Regions from separate parts of the Homo sapiens genome. Here region 1 is linked to region 2. The links are contacts of gene promoters, found by promoter capture Hi-C in human tissues and cell types (Jung and others, 2019). All regions are on one chromosome and are shown on one strand. Each heading gives the region's core, a stretch centred on a gene start or on the middle of the fragment in contact. The rest is flanking DNA. Distances are from core to core; before and after follow the strand shown.

What was found. Contacts are between HindIII fragments. The study calls those that stand out against the background at their distance.
Region 1: a contact is called between a fragment that was not itself captured here and the fragment with the promoter of FBXO28 in region 2, in 1 of the 25 tissues and cell types used here (H1 embryonic stem cells).

The regions. Positions count from the first base shown.
Region 1 is chr1:224,164,029-224,170,610 of GRCh38, reverse strand. No RefSeq gene overlaps it. Among named protein-coding and RNA genes, the nearest start is that of DEGS1, 16 kb to the left of the region's middle. RefSeq lists enhancers at 1-520, 521-1,490. The HindIII fragment of the contact is 7,720 bases long and covers 886-6,582 here.
Region 2 is chr1:224,110,314-224,116,957 of GRCh38, reverse strand. It overlaps FBXO28 (F-box protein 28), which reads right to left and starts at 2,847. Exons shown (of 5, transcript NM_015176.4): 1 at 2,562-2,847. The coding sequence starts at 2,828. It overlaps LOC105373056 (a long non-coding RNA gene), which reads left to right and starts at 2,918. Exons shown (of 3, transcript XR_007066897.1): 1 at 2,918-3,023; 2 at 5,429-6,195. RefSeq lists enhancers at 2,785-2,854, 2,995-3,054, 3,075-3,204. The HindIII fragment of the contact is 33,635 bases long and covers 1-6,644 here.

The sequences.
Region 1 (6,582 bases), core at 3,496-5,995, 52 kb before region 2:
TTGACAAGGGCTAGATTTGGTTGCTGTCTATGGCCTCATAGGTCATGCATCCTAATGCTTCTTTTTGAAAGAACATTTACCACCAGATACCTAGGGCTAAGGAGGGGTTCCTATGAGTCAGCTGTATGGTAACTTGGAAGAAAAATTCATGGTGAAGGTAACCCGTGAGGAGATTATTTAAAAACCAATGGAGGGCTGACAGCAGTGGCTTATGCCTGTAATTCCAGCACTTTGGGAGGCTAAGACAGGAAGATCGCTTGTGGCCAGGAGTTTGAGGCCAGCCTGGGCAATGTAGCAAGACTCTGCATCTATCAAAAATAAAAATAATTAGCCAGGCATGGTAGTCCCAGCTACTCAGTAAGCTGAGGCAGGAGGATCACTTGAGCTCAGGAGTTCAAGACTGTAGTGAGTGATAGGGCAAGACCTTATCTCTTAAAAAAAGAAAAAGAAAGCAACAACAACAGTGGAAAATGCCTTGGGGAAAACAGCCCCAAAGTGTGATCTCTGCCTCAACCAAGAGACACACATGACAGATTCCAACCATACCAGTAATGCAGATTTTTTTTCTTTATTCTGTCTCTCCTCCCCACTGAGTTAGACAGCAGAGAGTCTTGCAGGAGGGGGAGGAGGAAAAGCAAAGAGAATAAATGGAAGACATCCTCCTTCCTGCCCTTCTCCACTGAAAAGGAGAAGCCCAACTCAAAGCTTCTCCGAAGTCCAACTCAGGCCTGACTTACAGAAAGAAGAAAGAAGCGGGAGGGCACAGTGGCTCATGCCTGTAATCCCAGAATTTTGGGAGGCCAAGGCAGGCAGATCACCTGAGGTCAGCAGTTCAAGACCAGCCTGTCCAACATGGCGAAACCCCGTCTCTACTAAAAATGCAAAAATTAGCTGGGCTTGGTGGCAGGCACCTGTAATCCCAGCTACTTGGGAGGCTGAGGCAGGAAAATCGCTTGAACCCGGGAGGTGGAGGCTGCAGTGAGCCAAGATCGCACCACTGCACTCCAGCCTGTGCGACAGAGCAAGACTCCGTCTCAAAAAAAGAGAAAAAAAAGAGGAAAGAAGCTTTAATCAATTGAGACAATAAAGTCTTTCTTCGGATCGGGCTGGATTTTTTAATAACTGGATAAAGGTGATTAATTTGTTAGTGACCAGGAGAGTCTACAAGGCTCTGGGATCTGCCTGAGATTCCTTCTGGGATCAGGGCAGAACAATGCAACAGGACAGTCTAAAAGAGCAGTTACTGAGAAGAAATGAATCTGCTTCCATTTGCACCCTTCCAAGTCTAGCTCATGCAAAAGCAGTTGTACTCAGATGACTATTTTACTCACCAGCAGCCACAGCTTATGAAAAAGGAAATTGACAAAGGAAGAGGGTGAAGGGGCATAGGCAAGAAGAAAAGTCTTGAACTAGTGAGCACTGAAATCAAAACCGCAGGCTTATGGTTAGAGAAATTTCCCCCATTTCATGTATGAGGAAGCGAATACTTCCAGAATGTGAGTGACGTGTCTTAGATCACACAGCTTAGAGTGCAGCAGAGGCTAAAAAGGGACAAAGGTTGTCTGGTTCCAAATCCCAAATAGAAGATGGACTCGATCCAGAGGTGACTCATGGTGGGGAAGGCAGGGGTCCAGGATCCAGGAAAACACCATGAACTGATAGAGCAGTTCTGCAGGATGAAGTAGCTTTTTCTATCTGTGTGAAGCCAACAATATGAATGAGTGGAGAAAAGAGCGCATAGCTTTCATTCTTCCAGAGTCTGAGTTTTGCAGGGGATTGACTGGGATTGAGAATACATTTGCAAGATATTTTGTTTTTCTTCCCAGGCTTTTGGTTTTTAAGAAAACAGTCTGGCCAGGCACAGTAGCTCACGCCTATAATCCCAGCACTTTGGGAGGCCAAAGCGGATGGATCACAAGGTCAAGAGTTCGAAACCAGCCTGGCCAACATGGTGAAAACCCGTCTCTACTAAGAATACAAAAATTAGGCTGGGCGTGGTGGCTCACCCCTGTAATCCCAGCACTTTGGGAGGCTGAGGTGGGTGGATCACCTGAGGTCGGGAGTTTGAGACCAACCTGAGCAACATGGAGAAACCTCATCTCTACTAAAAATACAAAATTAGCCAGGTATGGTGGCGCATGCCTGTAATCCCAGCTACTCGGGAGGCTGAGGTGGGAGAATCGCTTGAACTCGGGAGGTAGAGGTTGCAGTGAGCCCAGATCGTGCCATTGCACTCCCGCCTGGGTGACAGAGACTCCGTCTCAAAAAAAAAAAAAAAAAATTCTGGAGCCTGGGAAGTCCAAGATCAAGGCACTGGCATATTCAGTATCTGGTGAGGGGCTGCTTCCTTGTTCGTGGATGGCCGTCTTCTGGCTATAACCTCACATGGCAGAAGAGGTGAAGGAGTTTTCTGAGGTCCCTTTTATTTAATTAATTAATTAATTAATTAATTTTTTTGAGATGGAGTCTCGCTCTGTCACCCAGGCTGGAGTGCAATGGTATGATCTCAGCTCACTGCAACCTCTGCTTCCTGGGTTCAAGAAATTCTCCTGCCTCAGCCTCCCAAGTAACTGGGACTACAGGTGCACCCCACCATGCCTGGCTAATTTTTGTATTTTTAGTAGAGATGGGGTTTCACATGTTGGCCAGGGTGGTCTCAAACTGCTGACCTCAGGTGACCCGCCTGCTTCGGCTTCCCAAAGTGCTGGGATTACAGGCGTGAGCCACCGCACCCAGCCTGGTGTCTCTTTTAAAAGAACACTAACCCCATTCATGAAGACTTCACCCTCATGAACATAATCACCTCCCCAAAGCCCAACCTCCTAGTCTCCTCCCCTTGAGGATTAGGCTTCAAGGCATACATTTTGCGGGGACACAAACTTTCAGTCTATAGCAGCTGGTTTAATTGTTGAATACACTTCCATGGTTTAAAAATAGAAAAACATGGCCGGGCGCGGTGGCTCACACCTGTAATCCCAGCACTTTGGGAGGCCGAGGCAGGCGGATCACGTGGTCAGGAGATCGCGACCATCCTGGCTAACATGGTAAAACCGTGTCTCTACTAAAAATACAAAAAATTAGCCGGGTGTAGCGGCGGGCGCCTGTAGTCCCAGCTACTCGGGAGGCTGAGGCAGGAGAATGGCGTGAACCCCGAGGGGCGGAGCTTGCAGTGAGCCGAGATCGCGCCACTGCACTCCAGCCTGGGCGACAGCGCGAGACTCCGTCTCAAAAAAAAAATAGAAAAACATACAGGTGTCTAGTGATAAGCTCCTCCCAGCTCCTGTTCCTGTTGTTATGTTGTCAAACCCCAAAATATAACCACTGTTATTGATTCCCTGTGCATTTTTCTAGAATTTTTTTTTCTTTTCTTTTCTTTCTTTTTTTTTGACATGGAATCTCACTCTTTCTCCCAGCCTGGAGTGCAGTGGTGTAATCTCAGCTCACTGCAACCTCTGACTCCCAGATTCAAGTGATCCTCCTGCCTCAGCCTCCTGAGTATCTGGGACTACAGGCACAGACCACCATGCCTGCCTAATTTTTGTATTTTTAGTAGAGGTGGGATTTCGCCATGTTGGCCAGGCTGGTCTCAAACTCCTGACCTCAAGTGATCTGCCCCCCTCAGCCTCCCAAAGTGCTGGGATTACAGGCATGATCCACCGTGCCCGGCCTAGAGTTTCTTTATGCATATGCATGCCACTACTTAGCAGTACAGTCATGAACTGCTTAAAGATGGGGATGTGCTCTCAGAAATGCATCAAGTGATTTTGTTGTATGAATATAATAGAGTTTACTTACACAAACCTAGATGGTTTAGCCTACTATATACACCTAGGCTATATGGTACAGCCTATTGATGCTAGACTACAAAACTGTATGGCATGTTACTGTTCTGAATACTGTAGGCACTTGTAGCACAGTGGTATTTGTGTATCTAAACACATAAACATAGAAAAGAAGCAGTAAAAATATGGTAGTATAATCTTATGGGACTGTCATAAAATATGCTGCTGCTTGTTGACTGAAATGTGGTTATTCAGCATGACTCTATATTATTTCCCTCTTTATTTTTCACAAAAGTTAGTATACTGTAATATTGTTCTGTATTTTGTTATTTCCCTTAGCAGTCTTGGAAATACATATATATTTTTTTCTTTTAGAGACAGAGTCTCACTCTGTCTCCCAGGCTGGGGTGCAGTGGCACAATCTCAGCTCACTGCAACCTCCACCTCCTGGGTTCAAGTGATTCTCCTGCCTCAGCCTCCTGAGTAGCTGAGATTACAGACACACGCCACCATGCCTGGCTACTTTTTGGATTTTTTAGTAGAGACAGGGTTTCACCACACTGGCCAGGCTGGCCTCAAACTCCTGACCTCAGGTGACCCACCCACCTCGGTCTCCCAGAGTGCTGGGATTACAGGCATGAGCCACCACGCTGGCCTTTTTTTTTTTTTTTTCATTTTGAGACGTAGTCTCGCTCTGTCTCCCAGGCTGGAGTGCAGTGGCATGATCTCAGCTCACTGCAACCTTTGCCTCCCGGGTTCAAGCGATTCTCCTGCCTCAGCCTCCCGAGTAGCTGGAATTACAGGTACCTACCACCATGCCCAGCTACTTTTAGTATTTTTAGTAGAGATGGGGTTTCACCATGTTGGCCAGGCTGGTCTTGAACTCCTGACCTCAAGTGATCTGCCCACCTTGGCCTCCCAAAGTGCTGGGATTACAGGCATGGGCCACCATGCCCGGCCAGAAATATTTCTTAGCATATAGATAATTTTCTTATTTTTACTGGTGCCTAGTATTCTATTGTAAGGATATATCCCAATTTATGAACCCTGTCTCCTATTGATGGATATTTTATTATTATTTTTTGAGACAGGGTCTTACTGTCACTCAGGCTGAGTGCAGTGGCAGCTCGCTGCAGCCTTGACCTCCTGGGCTCAAGCGATCCTCCTTTCTCAGCCTCCCAAGTAGTTGGGACTACAGGTGTATGCCACCAAGCCTGGCTAATTTTTTTTTTTTTAATTTTTAAATTTAAAATTTTTGTTTTTGGTAGAGACGAAGTCTTGGTATGTTGCCCAGGCTGGTCGTGAACTCCTAGATGCAAGCGATCCTCCCACCCTGGCCTCCCAAAGTGTATTTTTAAAAATAATTTCTTTATTCTCAAATGATAGTGACTGGATTGATACTGGTGGGAATTGTAATATAAATTTCCTGGCCGGGCACGGTGGCTCAAGCCTGTAATCCCAGCACTTTGGGAGGCAGAGGCGGGCGGAACACGAGGTCAGGAGATCAAGACCATCCTGGCTAACGTGGTGAAACCCCATCTCTACTAAAAATACAAAAAATTAGCCAGGCGAGGTGGTGGGCGCCTGTAGTCCCAGCTACTCGGGAGGCTGAGGCAGGAGAATGGCGTGAACCTGGGAGGCGGAGCTTGCAGTGAGCTGAAATCGCGCCACTGCACTCCAGCCTGGGCGACAGAGGGAGACTCCGTCTCAAAAAAAAAAAAAAAAAAAAAAAGACACCAAAGGCGATGAAACTGTTTTCTGTTTGGGATGGCTGATGGTCATGACCTCTACTGGTTTCAAGAACTGTCCCTGACCAATACTAACTTTTGTATTTTCTTCCTGCTTTCTCCTCCCTTTTACTCTCCTTCCTCTCTTCTCTCTCTCCATTTTCTTTGTTATTGCTAAATATAGGGAGCTAAGGGTTGTTTAGCATTTAGATTCAAAATGACAAATGTGCCTTACAGTGGCATTTCTCAAATTTTAATGTGCAAACTAATCACCAGGTGATCTTGTTAAAATGCAGATTTGATTCTGGAATGGGGCCTGAGATTCTACATTTCACAGAAGCTCCTAGGTGATTGAGGCTGTTGATCCATGGGCTACACTGTAACAGGCAGTGTCCTCTTACAGTAGAGTTACAGAAACTGTTTATCTAAAGAGCACTTTCTTGTAAGCTTGCTCCAACTCTCCAAAGAAAGAACAAGCAGTTTAGCCCTCTCTTCTTTACCCCACCCCAGCTAATTCTCTTTGGCTTGGCCTTGCGGAGGGAAGCATGTTCCCCTTGTCTTATCACAGGAAAGTATATCTTAGGTGTTGTATTCTGGAGTCAGTTTTGCTATTTACATTGCTGCATCACAGATTCCTAACAAATCAGTTAATTTGAATTTGACTTTTGTACAATCCAAAGGACAAGAGGAAAAAAAGAGTTTAAAAACACAAAAGCTGAGAAAGTTGAAAGCTATTTAGTTGCGTCTCTTTGAACAGAATTTATTGAATTAGGGGAAGTTTATCTTTGATTTGTATTTCCTTTCCAGTTATCAGTTGTACATTTTGCTCAAACACCCAACTGCTCATATTTCTTCTGTGTACGATTTACTCTAATTTTGCTTTGAGGAAATGATTAATCAGAAACCAGAGGGATGTAGGCCGGGTGTGGTGGCTCACGCCTGTAATCCCAGCACTTTGGGAGGCCGAGGCGGGCATATCACCTGAGGTCGGGAGTTCGAGACCAGCCTGGCCAACATGGTGAAACCCCATCTCTACTAAAAATACAAAAATTAGGTGGGAATGGTGGCGCACG
Region 2 (6,644 bases), core at 1,598-4,097:
GGTGATCTGCCCACCTCGGCGTCCCAAAGTGGTGGCATTACAGGTGTAAGCCACTGCGCCCAGCCAAAAATCCAATTTAATAAGGCATTCACACAGTCCCTTGGAAATCAGTTATTCATGGTAAGAGGAAGCAAAGACTATTATCAACTAAACAGTACAAATAACTGAAAAATGTTATTGTAGCAATTTCAACCTAGAGCAAATCTTTTAAAGAAAATGCAGAGTAGTAAGTACATGGATTGTGTACCTATTTATTGTCTACATTAGATGCTAAGCAAAGTTGTAACTGAGGTTCCAATAAGACAAGCAAACTGAGAAGGAAGAAAAAAAGTCCCTGAACAATACATAAACTAACTCCTACCTAACAACTGACATTTAGCTTTATGAAAACTAATTCTGTTCTTAATATTACCCCCTTCAAAGCATATCCAGCCTTAATTCCACTCAAAAATATGCTTACAATGAAGAGAACTACGTAACTTATATGTCAGATAGCAGCATACACTAAAGTCCCTTGATTTTTTGCAAACGATTCTTTAGGTATAAATGGCTACTTAAGAAGGCATGTACAGCTCACCTAGGTACTCTCTTGACTGCCAATTTCAGAAAAGATCATAATTAAATTAATGCTGACACCTAGTGGCAAAAAAGAACATCTTTCTTTTCTAACGTTACTTGAATTGTACCTTCCAAGCAAAGACACTTCCAACTCCCCACAAAGGATTATCCATTTAATCTATTCAAGAATTATCCATTAGCCTTAAGTAAAAAAAATAGTTCCCCATTACTCAAAAATCATATTTGCACATGTAAAACGGGGCAGAATCTTTTCCTGGGGGTGGGCAGTTGTACTGAAGGGACTCCTTATGAAAAATCTGAGTTTGAAATTATAAATTTATAACCTTAAAAGGCCAGAAAACTGCTTAAAAATTAAGAATGCAGCTGAATATCTCACCTGACAGAGATGTCATTTATTCATAAGTTGTGGGATGTGTTTTAACTCTAGTTAGGACAGGCTGGTTCCCCCCTCCCCACTACATTTTTTTAAAATAGTAAAATGATCAACAAACAAATAAAACTCAGTTTTTCTCAACACTTACAAAACAGAACTGTGAATATTCCAAGATTTACAAAGCCATTGTCTGGTTGAATGGTTCAATTCAATCAAATGTTATATGCCCAATTTTCCAAACACTGTATATGTACAGCGCGAATTTTGATTAAACGCCACTGTTTGTAAAAATCTGAAGGAATATTTAAGATTCTACATGAAATTCTAGAATGAAAACGTTTTGGAAATTCAGAGGCAATCAATTGTGAAATATCTATTTTCAGCTGAAGAAATTTTCCATCCTGCAGACTGGCATGGTTGAACTGCTGTGTTGACTAGAAAAAAAATTGGCCATCAGTTTGAATTAATATTTATAAGTTCTCTTTTAAAAATGTTATGATTTCCTTTAAAAATGTAATTATAATCCACTTGAAAGTGGAGGTGTATGCCTACAATATAGCATATTGAGTAATAAGAAGATGTTATACACAGCACATTCAGAAATATCTTTGTCCTCTTAAAAACAATTCCCAGCACAGATTTAGCTTCTCCATGGAATCGGTTTGCAATCACTTCAAAATGTCCACCTCCTTCAATTTCTTTACCACTTAAAGATAATTTCATTGAAAGGCAGCAAAATATCTAACTGAACTAACAATCACCACATCTTCAAACCTCTGGAGTGAAGTAAAACCCCAATGGCAAATTCATTATTTTTAAAAATCATGGACTGACCTATTGTGATTTTAAGGTATAAAGAAACCTCTCCTAAAGCAGGTGGGTGGGCGTAAATCACTAGTTAAAAATAAATTGCAAAAGAGAAAAAACCCGTCAAGGGGTAAGTTGCTTCTCTACGGTGGGAAGCGTTAGGATGAGGCAAAGCAGGAATGGTCATTTCCCAAGGCTCTACTTTAGTGGTCAATTAGGGCGCTGGGGCTAACGCTAAGTAAACACGTTCGAATTCTTCGGAACCTCTACCTGGGTTTGGGGTCACTGAGCCACCTTAGTCTACTCAATCTTCTCGAACAAGAAAACTTGGGTGGTTGGGGTGGGGAACAATTCGTTATTCTTGCAAGATAAACCAAACCTGGCTGGGATCATCTGCCTACTTCTGAGTTTTCTCCCCAAACCCAGGCCGGGGGCTGGAAGCGGCATACAAAAGGCAGGCGACATGACCTCTCCGGGTCTACTCTCGGGCCAGGCGGAAGGTGGGAAGACCAACTCCGCTACCCCTCCCGTAGAGGGCCCGCTTCCGGGCGGGGGGCAAGGAGCCCCCAAGGCGAAGTCCCCTCAGGAAGTAACCCCAGCTCCGCAGCTAGGACGCAATCGGGAACCAGCCCACTCCTGCTGACTGACGCCAAGGGAGAGTTCGGGACGGGAGCGGCTCCCTCCCAGATCTGTAGCCGGCTGGGGCTCGCGGGGGGCTCCCTTCCCGGGGAACGCGCTCCCTTCTCATCTCCCAGACCTCGGCCGGGGGGAGAGGGAGGCAGGAGTTCTGCGGGGGCCTCACCAGGCGGAGCTGGCTAATTTCGTCGTAGGACATAAAGCTGAGGATGTTCTCGATGGCTACGATGGGCAGCGCCACAAGCGTGTTGTTTTGAGGCAGCTGGTCCGGAGCCAGCGCGGGGGCTGGGAGCGCCTGGGACCCCGGCTGCGGGTGCTGTGGCGCGGGCGGTGGAGGCTGTCGCTGGGTAGAGCCGGAGGCCAAAGAGGAACCGCCGTCGCCTTGGCCGCCGCCTCCTTCCTCTGCCATCCGCTCCTCCGCCGCTGCCGCCATCTTGGGGGCTTGATTCCTTACCCCCACAGCAAGGGGAACAGGGACACTTCCGGTGCGTCACTTCCTCCTCCTGCAGCCGCCGGGGAAGGGGTACCTGGAGGAGTGGGGAGGAGCCTGTGGGATAACAGGCGGAGAGAGACTCACAGGGTGCCTTTCAAGTGGAAGTCAGGGAAGATCATGTAAACCTCAAGAAAGGTGGTCATCCTAGACCCTTTTGTCTAAGATTAGTAACTACTTGAGAGCAAGGAAACCCTATTTATTAAAATGAACTTCACTGTGCAGTTTTCTTAAAGGGCTTCCTGACAATGGATGATAAAGATGTTGCCTAGTAAGTGTAGATGGAAATAATGTAGTTAGACTAGCACCATTTTTTAGGAATCATAGAAATGATTGATTTAGGCAAATAAAAAGGTATGAAATATCAATAAGAACTACAACATGAATGAACCGTGAGAACATATTAAGTGAAATAAGTTAGACACAAAGGACCACATATTGTATGATTGCATTTATATAGGATGTCTTAAATAGGCAAATCCATAGAGATAAAAAGTAGATTAGTGGTCGCCAGAGGCTGGGGGAAATGGGGAAATGAGTGCTAATGGGTGAAGGGTTTCATTTTCGGGGTGATAAAAATGCTCTGGAATTAGCGGTGATGGTTACACAACCGTATGAATATACAAAAACCACTGAATTACTATATACTTTAATGAATTTTATCATATATGAATTGTATTCTAATAACTGATTTAGGCAAGAATCATCAAAAGGTACTAAAACTAGGAGGTAAACGTGATGAGGAACATGATATTTCCATAGTCTCAAAATAACTCCCCATAAATTATGTATTATTTACAAAGATGAAAAGAAATAGTTTACAAGGCTGGGCGTGTTGACTCACGCCTGTAATCCAGCACTTTGGAAGGCTGAAGCGGGAGAATCACTTTAGCCCAGAAGTTGGAGACCAGCCTGGGCAACGTGGAGAAACCCCATCTCTACAAAAAATACAAAAAATTAGCCAAATGTGGTGGCTAGGTCCTATGGTCCTAGCTACTCGTGAGGCTGAGATGGGAGGATTGCTTGAGCCACACGAGTTCGAGGCTGCAGCGAACCGTCAGCCTGCCACTGCACTCCAGCCTGGGCAACAGAGCGAGAAAAAAAAAAAAAGTTTACAATAGAGAAATTTGGTGGACACCATCATAACCAAATGATCAAGACTAACGCCACAGTTATAGGAGGAGCCAATATCATATGCCTATTAATATAATACCCTGAAAAGGACGCAGCATAATGTAGTATTCATGCAAAAAAAGCACGAGTTGCGTTTGAGGTAGACATCGCTAGATGACGGGCCCATAAATTATTCAAAAGTGTTAACGTTACAAAAGACAAAGACTAAGGGTTTGTGGCAGATTAAAGGATACTAAAGAGACAGGGCAACTAAATCTATGGGTGATCCTGGATGGGATCCTGGATTAAGGAAGAAATAACTATGAAGAACGTTATTGTGACAACTGGCAAAATTTAAAAATGGACAGTATATTAGATTATACTGTAATCATATTAAATTTTTCGATTTGGGTAATTGTATTATGGTCATATAAGACAATGTCTTTGTCTTTAGGAAATACACATTGAAGGATAAGCATGCTTCTATTATTTTCCTTTATTTATTTATTTATTTTTTTGAGATGGAGTCTTGCTCTGTCACCCAGGCTAGAGTGCAGTGGTGCGATGTCAGCTGGTTCGAGCAATTCTCCTGCCTCAGCCTCCTGAGTAGCTGGGATTACAGGCGCCCACCATCACGTCTGGCTAATTTTTGTATTTTTAGTAGAGACGGGATTTCACCATCTTGGCCAGGCTGCTCTCGAACTCCTGACCTTGTGATCCACCCACCTCAGCCTCCCAAAGTGCTGGGATTACAGGCAGCAATGGCGCCCGGCCGCATGCTTTGTATTTTACACTTTGCTTTCTTGTGCTTCTCAGATATTGCGTTTTTAAAAATGAATTGAAGGTTTGTGGCAACCCTTGAGCAAGTCTCTTGGTGCCATTTTTCCAACAGCATGTGTTCACCTTGTTTCTTTCTGTCACATTTTGATAATTCCTCTGATATTTAAAACTTTTTATTATTGTTATATCTGTTATGGTGAGCTGTGATCAGTAATTTTTTTTGTTTATTGAGGCAGCATCTTGCTCTGTTGCCCAGACTGGAGTGCAATGACAGGATGATGGCTCACTGTAGCCTCCACCGCCTGGGTTCAAGCAATCCCCCAACCTTGGCCTCCTGAGTAGCTGGGACTACAGGTGTGTGCCACCACACCTGGATAATTTTTGATTTTTTTTTGTAGAAACAGGGTTTTGCCACGTTGCCCAGGCTGGCCTTGAACTCTTGTGCTCAAGCAGTCTGCCTGCTTTGGCCTCCCAAAGTGTTGAGATTACGAGAGTGAGCCACCATGCCTGGCAGATCAGTAATCTTTATGTTACTATTGTAATTGTTTTGAGGTGCCACCAATCATACCCATATAAGACGGCAAATTTAATCAATACATGTAGGTGTTCTGACTGGCTGCTGTTTCCCCATCTCTCTTCTTCTCCTGCAGCTATGGTGGAAATAGCAAGAGAACTGGAATTAGAAGTGAAGCCTGAAGATGTGACTAAATTGTTGCTGCAATCTCATGATAAAACTTGAATGGAGGCCGGGTGCGGTGGCTCACGCCTGTAATCCCAGCACTTTGGGAGCCCCAGGTGGGTGGATCACCTGAGGTCAGGAGTTCGAGACCGGCCTGGCCAATGTGGCAAAACCCCTTCTCTACTAAAAGTACAAAAATTAGCCAGACGTGGTGGCATGCGCCTATAATCCCAGCTACTCGGGAGGCTGAGGCAGGAGAATTGCTGGAACCTGGGAGGCAGAGGTTGCAGTGAGCTGAGATCGTGCCACTGCACTCCAGCCTAGGCAACAGAGCGAGATTCCAGCTCAAAAAAGAAAAGAAAAAAAGCCAAACTTGAATGGATTGAATGGATGAGGAGTTGCTTCTTATGAATGAGCAAAGCAAGTGATTTCTTCATATGGAATCTGTTCCTGGTGAAGATGCTGTGATCATTATTAAAAGACAACAAAGGATTTAGAATATTACATAAACTTAGTTGATAAAGCAATGGCAGAGTTTGAGAAGATTGACTCCAATTTTGAAAAAAGGTCTACTGTGGCAAGATGTTATCAAACAGCATCATATGCCATGGAAAAAATCTTTGTGAAAGAGTCAATCAGTGTATCAAACTTCATTGCTATCTTATTTTAGAAAATTGCCACAGCCACCCTAACCTTCAGTAACTACCATCCTGATCGATCAGCAGCTGTTAAATTGAGGTAAGACCCTCTACCAGCAAAAAGATTATGATTCACCAAAGGCTCAGATGATTAGCATTTTTTAGCAATAAAATATTTTAAAATTAAAGTATATCATTTTTTAGACATAATGCTATTGCACACTTAATAGACTACAGTTTTATATAAACATAACTTTTATATGCACTGGGAACCAAAACTTACTTGTGTCACTGGGTTTATTGCACTACTTGCTTTATTATGGTGGCCTGTGTGGTCTAACTCTCAATATCTCAGAGGTATTTCTGTATTTATGGGTAGAGGGAAATGATGCCTCAAATTACTTTCAAATGGTTCAAGTAAATAGATAGAGAATGAGGTTAATATAGCAAATACAGCAAATGTTATTAATTGATGAATTTGGTTGAAGGGTATACCAGAGTCTTCCTTGTACTATCTTGTAATTATTTCAGAAAAAAAATTTAAAGGTT